Linked DNA regions of Homo sapiens: all the other regions are linked to region 2. Evidence: promoter capture Hi-C in human tissues and cell types (Jung and others, 2019). All regions are on one chromosome and are shown on one strand. The core of a region is centred on a gene start or on the middle of the fragment in contact, and the rest is flanking DNA. Distances in the headings are between cores, read along the strand shown. Region 1 has its middle 62 kb from the start of TMEM229A. Region 2 holds the start of TMEM229A (transmembrane protein 229A). Region 3 has its middle 37 kb from the start of TMEM229A.

What was found. The method cuts DNA at HindIII sites, captures the fragments that hold promoters and counts their contacts. A contact is called where the count stands out against the background at its distance.
Region 1: a fragment that was not itself captured here is called in contact with the fragment with the promoter of TMEM229A in region 2 in 4 of the 25 tissues and cell types used here (bladder, dorsolateral prefrontal cortex, hippocampus and 1 more).
Region 3: a contact is called between a fragment that was not itself captured here and the fragment with the promoter of TMEM229A in region 2, in 3 of the 25 tissues and cell types used here (dorsolateral prefrontal cortex, hippocampus and thymus).

Annotation. Positions count from the first base shown.
Region 1 is chr7:124,093,512-124,096,221 of GRCh38, reverse strand. No RefSeq gene overlaps it. Among named protein-coding and RNA genes, the nearest start is that of TMEM229A, 62 kb to the right of the region's middle. The HindIII fragment of the contact is 4,980 bases long and covers 1-2,710 here.
Region 2 is chr7:124,031,735-124,034,567 of GRCh38, reverse strand. It overlaps TMEM229A (transmembrane protein 229A), which reads left to right and starts at 1,501. Exons shown (of 1, transcript NM_001136002.2): 1 at 1,501-2,833. The coding sequence starts at 1,565. The coding sequence ends at 2,707. The HindIII fragment of the contact is 14,772 bases long and covers 1-2,833 here.
Region 3 is chr7:124,068,652-124,071,351 of GRCh38, reverse strand. No RefSeq gene overlaps it. Among named protein-coding and RNA genes, the nearest start is that of TMEM229A, 37 kb to the right of the region's middle. The HindIII fragment of the contact is 3,265 bases long and covers 1-2,700 here.

The DNA.
Region 1 (2,710 bases), core at 57-2,556, 62 kb before region 2:
CCACAGCCAATATCATACTGAATGGGCAAAAACTGGAAGCATTCCCTTTGAAAACTGGCACAAGACAGGGATGCCCTCTCTCACCACTCCTATTCAACATAGTGTTGGAAGTTCTGGCCAGGGCAATTAGGCAGGAAAAGGAAATAAAGGGTGTTCAATTAGGAAAAGAGGAAGTCAAATTGTCCCTGTTTGCAGACGACATGATTATATATCTAGAAAACCCCATCGTCTAAGCCCAAAATCTCCTTAAGCTGATAAGCAACTTCAGCAAAGTCTCAGGATACAAAATCAATGTACAAAAATCACAAGCATTCTTATACACCAATAACAGACAAACAGCCAAATCTTGAGTGAACTCCCATTCACAATTGCTTCAAAGAGAATAAAATACCTAGGAATCCAACTTACAAGGGATGTGAAGGACCTCTTCAAGGAGAACTACAAACCACTGCTCAAGGAAATAAAAGAGGATACAAACAAATGGAAGAACATTCCATGCTCATGGGTAGGAAGAATCAATATCATGAAAATGGCCATACTGCCCAAGGTAATTTATAGATTCAATGCCATCCCCATCAAGCTACCAATGACTTTCTTCACAGAATTGGAAAAAACTCCTTTAAAGTTCATATGGCACCAAAAAAGAGCCCGCATCGCCAAGTCAATCCTAAGCCAAAAGAACAAAGCTGGAGGGATCACGCTACCTGACTTCAAACTATACTACAAGGCTACAGTAACCAAAACAGCATGGTACTGGTACCAAAACAGAGATATAGATCAGTGGAACAGAACAGAGCCCTCAGAAATAACGCCGCATATCTACAACTATCTGATCTTTGACAAACCTGAGAAAAACAAGCAATGGGGAAAGGATTCCCTATTTAATAAATGGTGCTGGGAAAACTGGCTAGCCATATGGAGAAAGTTGAAACTGGATCCCTTCCTTACACCTTATACAAAAATTAATTCAAGATGGATTAAAGACTTAAACATTAGACCTAAAACCATAAAAACCCTAGAAGAAAACCTAGGCATTACCATTCAGGACATAAGCATGGGCAAGGACTTCATGTCTAAAACACCAAAAGCAATGGCAACAAAAGCCAAAATTGACAAATGGGATCTAATTAAACTAAAGAGCTTCTGCACAGCAAAAGAAACTACCATCAGAGTGAACAGGCAACCTACAGAATGGGAGAAAATTTTCTCAACCTACTCATCTGACAAAGGGCTAATATGCAGAATCTACAATGAACTCAAACAAATTTACAAGAAAAAAACAAACAACCCCATCAAAAAGTGGGCAAAGGATATGAACAGACACTTCTCAAAAGAAGGCATTTATGCAGCCAAAAGACACATGAAAAAATGCTCATCATCACTGGCCATCAGAGAAATGCAAATCAAAACCACAATGAGATACCATCTCACACCAGTTAGAATGGCAATCATTAAAAAGTCAGGAAACAACAGGTGCTGGAGAGGATGTGGAGAAATAGGAACACTTTTACACTGTTGGTGGGACTGTGAACTAGTTCAACCATTGTGGAAGTCAGTGTGGCGATTCCTCAGGGATCTAGAACTAGAAATACCATTTGACCCAGCCATCCCATTACTGGGTATATACCCAAAGGACTATAAATCATGCTGCTATAAAGACACATGCACACGTATGTTTATTGTGGCACTATTCACAATAGCAAAGACTTGGAACCAACCCAAATGTCCAACAATGATAGACTGGATTAAGAAAATGTGGTACATATACACCATGGAATACTATGCAGCCATAAAAAATGATGAGTTCATGTCCTTTGTAGGGACATGGATGAAATTGGAAATCATCATTCTCAGTAAACTATCGCAAGGACAAAAAACCAAACACCACATGTTCTCACTCATAGATGGGAATTGAACAATGAGAACACATGGACACAGGAAGGGGAACATCACACTCTGGGGACTGTTGTGGGGTGAGGGGAGTGGGGAGGGATAGCATTAGGAGATATACCTAATGCTAAATGATGAGTTAATGGGTGCAACACACCAGCATGGCACATGTATACATATGTAACTAACCTGCACATTGTGCACATGTACCCTATAACTTAAAGTATAATAATAATAATAATAATAAACAAAAAAGAAACAGAAATTTAGGGCCCATAATCATACAGGAGGTTGAGGAGCTAGGTTGTTACTCATTTTTTTTTTAGTTGTTTCCTACTAAGTGAGGCATTGTCCCTGCCAAGCCTGGGCCCTAGAGTTTTTTTTCTGTCTTGTCTAATGGGGTGTAAGCCATGTTGTCTGTGGGACTGGTGGGCAAGATGTGAGATGTTCTATTAGTAGTCAAAGGTTGGAAGCTTTGGAAAACCATCATGTGGACTTGGAATTGTGAGTGAGAGAGTAATAAAGTAGTTAGCATTTCAAACAAAGTTGGACCAAAAATTAAAGCTAAAAGTATGGTAATAATTGACACTACTAAAGGGAGCAGGGCAGACAACAGCTATTGTTTTTAAGTCTATGGAAGTTTTTAAAGATTTAATTTTGTCTGCTTGGATAATGATATTTTTAATATGTCTTTGGACCAAACTGGACTGATTAATGTAAAAAAAGTATTTTATTTTTTAGACACAAACATGTTTTTTCTTGTCTGGCTGTGAGAAGATGTAAGGCTCTTTAAGACTGCAGTAGCCAGAGAGTCTAGTTG
Region 2 (2,833 bases), core at 252-2,751:
AGCCTTTCATCAAGGGAGGATCTAAACTCTAACACAGAACTGTTATCTATCCGCACATGAATTTCGGGGGAAGGAGGAGAAAGAGGGAGGTAATCGGTATAATTCACCCCCGAGGCTCTTTCCAGTTCCAAGACTGATTCAAAATTGGAGAGAATGGTGGAACCAACACACCAACATTCTGAACCCCTTCCACTCTCTCAACCAAGGAAGGAAGGAAGGAAGGAAGGAAGGAAGGAAGGAAGGAAGGAAGGAGATAAAGAGGGAGGAAGGGAGAGAGAGAGGGAGGGAGGGATTGGAGGGGAGGGGAGGGGAGGGGAGGAAGTAGGGAATGAGGGAAGGGAGAAGAGGGGAGAGGTGAAGGGAGGGAGGGAAAAGATAGAAAAAGATAAACCCTGGCCCTTTATGTCACTCTCCATTTCTGGGATGACCTAGTTCTGCCAAAAGAAGAACCCAGCAGCGGGGTGTGCCAGGACGAGGTACTATTCTCCACCTGAGACCCCACAGTAGCTAGAACAAAGCATTTCCTCTTCTCCACACCCCAACCCAACCCAACTGGCCTGAAATCATTTCACAAATTCTGGGGGACATCGAATCTCTGTCCTTGGCCTTGAGTAAACCCAGAAAAGTAGATGGGCCAAGAAATAGATTGGAAAAGTGGATCAGGCCCCGCGGCAGCAATTTAGATGGAGGGTAACGCAGGGGCGGGCAGGCGTGGAGTCTCGAGTTTATTCTCTATGACTGGGACACAGCTGGCTTTGAATAAGAACATTAAGTATACAGCACCATATTTTGGTCTTGAGCCCAGCCTCCAGCCCGTGGCACTCAGCCATTCGTCTCCGCCAGCCAGGCCCTGGCCCTGATTGCCGCGATGCAGGGAATGCCCATCAACTTGCAGTCACACCTGTTAGGTGTTTCTCCACTCAGTGCCTCCGCCCAGCAAGCGCCCCCCGCACGACCGGAGCCCCTGTGTTGAGTGGGCGCACCGGGAGGAAGAAGCAGGGCCGGGCCTTCCCGAGCAGACCCTGTGGGACTCGGTGCGGCGGGCGGGCGCGTGGGGGCGGCCTGAGAAGGCGGGAGAGGTCGAGGCAGGCGGAGAGGGGCATTGGCAGGGCGGGGGCAGGGCCGCCGCTGCTCGCGTTACGTTCCCAGAGCCTGCAGCGGAGGCGCGGGGCTAAGCAGCGGAGGGGATGGGGCTTCCACAAGCTTCTGCATTTCCCCTCACAGCCCCGGCGCCGCCTCCCCTGGCTGGGCCGCGGTGCCCGTTAGGCCGCGCAGGGTGAGAGCTAGAGCGGGCGCGGGCGGGCGGCACCTCGCCCGGGACTGGAAGGGAGGGCGCAGCGGGGCCACGGCGGGGGGATTCCGCTAGCCGGGCGGCCCGCGAGTCCCCTGAGTGCATCAGCCCCCGCTGCCGCGGGACCGCGGCCGGGACGGAGCTCCCTGCGCGCCCCCCGGGGGCCGGCAGCGGCCAGGAGGCGGCGCGGGGCTCGGCCGCTCGGCCCTGCAGCTCCGCGCACCCGGCAGCGGCGGCGGTGCAGCCTCGGGCGTTCGGACAGCCTCCGAGCCCATGGCGGGGAGCGACGTGGACAGCGAGGGCCCCGCACGGAGGGGCGGCGCGGCGCGGCGTCCGGGGGCCCCTGGCGGGCCAGGAAGCGAGGCGGCAGCCGGCTGCCCGGAGCCGCTGTCCACTGCTGAAGCGCCGGCTGAGAGCGCCACGCTGCCCGCCTGGATGCGCCTCTACTTCTACGGGATGCACGGGATCACCCTGGACGTGCTGGTGTCCTCGGCCCGGCGCTTCGCCCGCAGCCCGGACCTGCGGATGCTAGGCTTCTCCTCGCCCTACCGCTGCCTGCTGCACTCGCTCACCCATTTCGCCCTGGAGAAGGTGTACCTGCAGCAGCGGCGCTGTCCCAACGCCTTCGTCTTCAATTTCCTCCTCTACCCCTCGGCCCACGTGGGGCTGCAGACCCTAGCGGGCCAGGCGCTACTACTCAGCCTGGGCGGCGGGGCGGGGGTCGCGGTGGCGCCAGGGGCGCTGGACCTGGCGCTGCAGTACGTGCTGGCGCTCTACCACTGCCAAGTGTTCCTGAAGCGCTTCCTGCGCTTGCGGTACGGGCGACAGAGGCGGCGGCAGCAGCAACAGCAGCAGCAGCAGCAGCAGCAGCAGCGGAGGGGCGCGCTCCCCGTCCCTCCCGGCGCCCGGGTCCCTACTGCGGCCGGAGCCCGGCGGCGACGACCCCGTGGCCCCAGGGGCGCCGGGGGAGCCCCCAGCCAGGGGCTGCCCGACCTACCCCGCTTTCTTTTCTTCGGAATGCACGGCTTTCTGGATGAGATCTTCTTCACCTTCTTCTTCAACGTACTGGGGCAGGGGGACGGGACAACCAGCGGCCACACGTCGCTCTGGTCCTTCTTTATGTACGGCAGCTGCAGTTTCGTGGTGGAAAAGCTCTACTTCCACCTCCACTACAGCCGCGGTTGGGGCACTTGGAAGCGGGTGCCCATCTACGTGATCTTCATCTACGTGTGGGAGCTGTCCTGGGGTCTGGGACTCCGCACGTGCGGGGCTTGTTCCTGGGACTATTCTCACTACCCGCTCAATTTTATGGGCCTCATCACCCTGATGTATTTACCTGGCTGGATATTCCTTAGTGTGTACCAGGACCTAATTTCCAACGTGTTGTGGAGGGTGCAGTACGTACCAGCTAACTAAAACCAAAAAAGAAAGAAAGAAAAGGAAAAAGTCACTGGATTCCCACGAATGGATGCGATTTATTTTTACACATTTAAAATGAAGTGGGTTTTTTAGTCCTTTAATTTTTATACGCTTTACTAAACT
Region 3 (2,700 bases), core at 20-2,519, 37 kb before region 2:
AATGTTCATCTGAAACAAATACTTAAAAAGCTTAACTAGTCATCTTCATCATAATTTCATCTTGTTCTCATGAAGCAACGTTGGCTCTGAAATACACACAGTCCAGTGCCAAATAATTGAATAGTCTACCTCTCAGAATTCTGAACACCATCATATTATTTTGTTTCATATTTTTATAGATGATTAGGTTAGATCTAAAAAGATGCTCTTGGAGATAGACTAAACCTTGTCTTACTGTATAGAGTAGCCATATATTCCCATTTGTCGAGGACAATCACTGTTTATACCAGTTATTAGAGTGTAATTTTAATAGTGCCTCCACTTCTCTCAAAATGTCCAGATTTAATTGATAAATTATATGGTCACTGTATTAGGTTAATTCAGAGACAGCACAAGAAATTGGAATGGTTTTGCTTTTTCAACCTAAACTCAAGCAACTTTGATGTTTATGAGGAGAGAGTAGAGGGGTCAGAAAAAAGTGGAAAAGGGCAGAAAGGTGGGTACAGAATGTTTGGCGTCTGCTCACAAAAAGCAAAAGCAAGTGCATATTAACGTTAGAAAGACTACTTTATCACCCAGCTTGACTCTTACCCACTTAGAAGCGGTAAACTGTGGCCTATTTTTCAAGAATCAAAATTGGGACACATATTTGTGAGAATTTGGGGAATAAATTCTTGAAGTTATACTCCACATTCATTTTTGTCAGCACCATTTTCCTTATAATATGTCTTTTTCTAATTGAAGGAAATGTGAACATTGAAAGGGAGATTATTACCTAGTTTCAGCTAAGGCTACTTACAGCTTTGAAAATAACCCCTGTACCTTTTGCTGACAATTTTTAATAACAATGACCAAAATACTACTTCTGCTGCTGCCGCTGCTGTGGTAACGATGATGATAATGATAGAAAAGTGAACAGACAACGCCTTCTAGTGATTCAATATGGTGGATAGCCAAATTCACATTTGAGAAAAATACTACAAAGAACATCCAGAGACTTGTGATTTAACTATGCCATCCATTAGTTGGATGAACTTGAACAAACTCAAAGTTAGTTAGAAACAATCTGTAAAACTCTATTTGTAAAATAGGAAGATTGATTTCTGGGAGTGGATCCAGCTCAATCTAGAAATTTCTTGAAGCTTATTTCAAAAAATATATACCAGCAAAAAATACACACATTCTGAGACCCTTGGCAAGATTAGCAGTCAGACTCCTTCACATCCAGCATATCACCTCTAAAATTTCCTCCTGGGTTTTGCTAAAGGCCCCTCCATTACAGAGAAAATTACACTAAAGATGTAATCATTCTCCACACAGGAGCTGCTTGGTTTATTTTTATTCCATTCAATCGTTCCTTTCTTTCCCCTTCATTGCAATTCCAAAGTGAGCCCAAATTCTCTGTTGTATATCATTCTACTAAAGCATAAGGTAGTTATTAAGTGTGATATTTTCTCTTCAGACTCCTTCCTGACCTTTGATCAGTCACCATCTCCAATTTAGATTTTACCTTCCTGAGGCAGAAACCGCATCTACACCGGGATATTCAGTAACATTGTGCCTGTTCTGAAAATGTACCTTCATTTCATTGGTATTCTAGATACATTCCCACATTTTAACTCTTCATGGTGTTATGCAAATTATATTAGTTGAACTAATTTTTTAAATTTAGGTTAAAATAACACATAACACAAAATTTACCATCTTAACCATTTTAAGGTATACATTTCAGTTGTGTTAAGAATATTCACATTGTTGAACAACAGATCTCCAAAACTTTCTCATCTTGCAAAACTGAAATTTTATGCTCATTAAACAACTCCCCATTTTTCCCTCCTCCAAGCCCCTGGTAACCATCATTCTACTTTCTGTTTCTATGAATTTGACTACTTTAGATACCTCACATAAGTAGGTATTTTTGATAACATCTGAACTAAATTTTATTATGTATATAGTTGTAAAAATGACTGTTATTTTATACCTTACTTATAAGGTATAAAATGTATAGTGACAACCCTTTAATCATTTCAAAATGACTTCCTATTCTTAAGCTCTTCTCTATTCAGTGTTTCCTTTGCTGTCACCCTGCTTCTCACACTCCCCACTCTTCCATCACTTTCAATCCTGGCCTCTAAAACCCTGTTTTATTGTAAACAAGCTCTTTATAGCTTCTTGTCTTAACTAAAATTTGACTTTCTTTGGAGGATCTCCCTCTCTCTACAGTCTTCTAATGGAGGCTATTTTTTATCTCATAATTCACATGACCCAAGTTCATGATGGTGGGGTGCAGAAAGAGGTATATTAGTTAACAGTCTTTGGTTGACAATAGAGATCCAAATTCAAATCTAGCTTAAGAAAAAAAGTTTAAAAGTTATTTATGGACTTACACAACTGGAGAGAAGAAAGAGGAATATTCTCAAAGGCACAAACAAATATAAATATGCCTCTAAATTTCAGCTATCACCTACACTTGTTTCTGCTTGAATTAATTTTCTCAAGATTCTTTTGCAGTCTTCTAGGCAATGGGCAATATGGCTGCTGCTAACATCAGAATCACATCATCTTTATCCTCCTCTTGAGGAGTGCATCTACAATGCAAAAGGATTCTAGTTGAAATAGCTTGGGTTACAAAACTATTCTTCAGTCCAATCACAACCTATGGGGCATATTGTACTATTGGCCCAGCCTAGCATATGATAA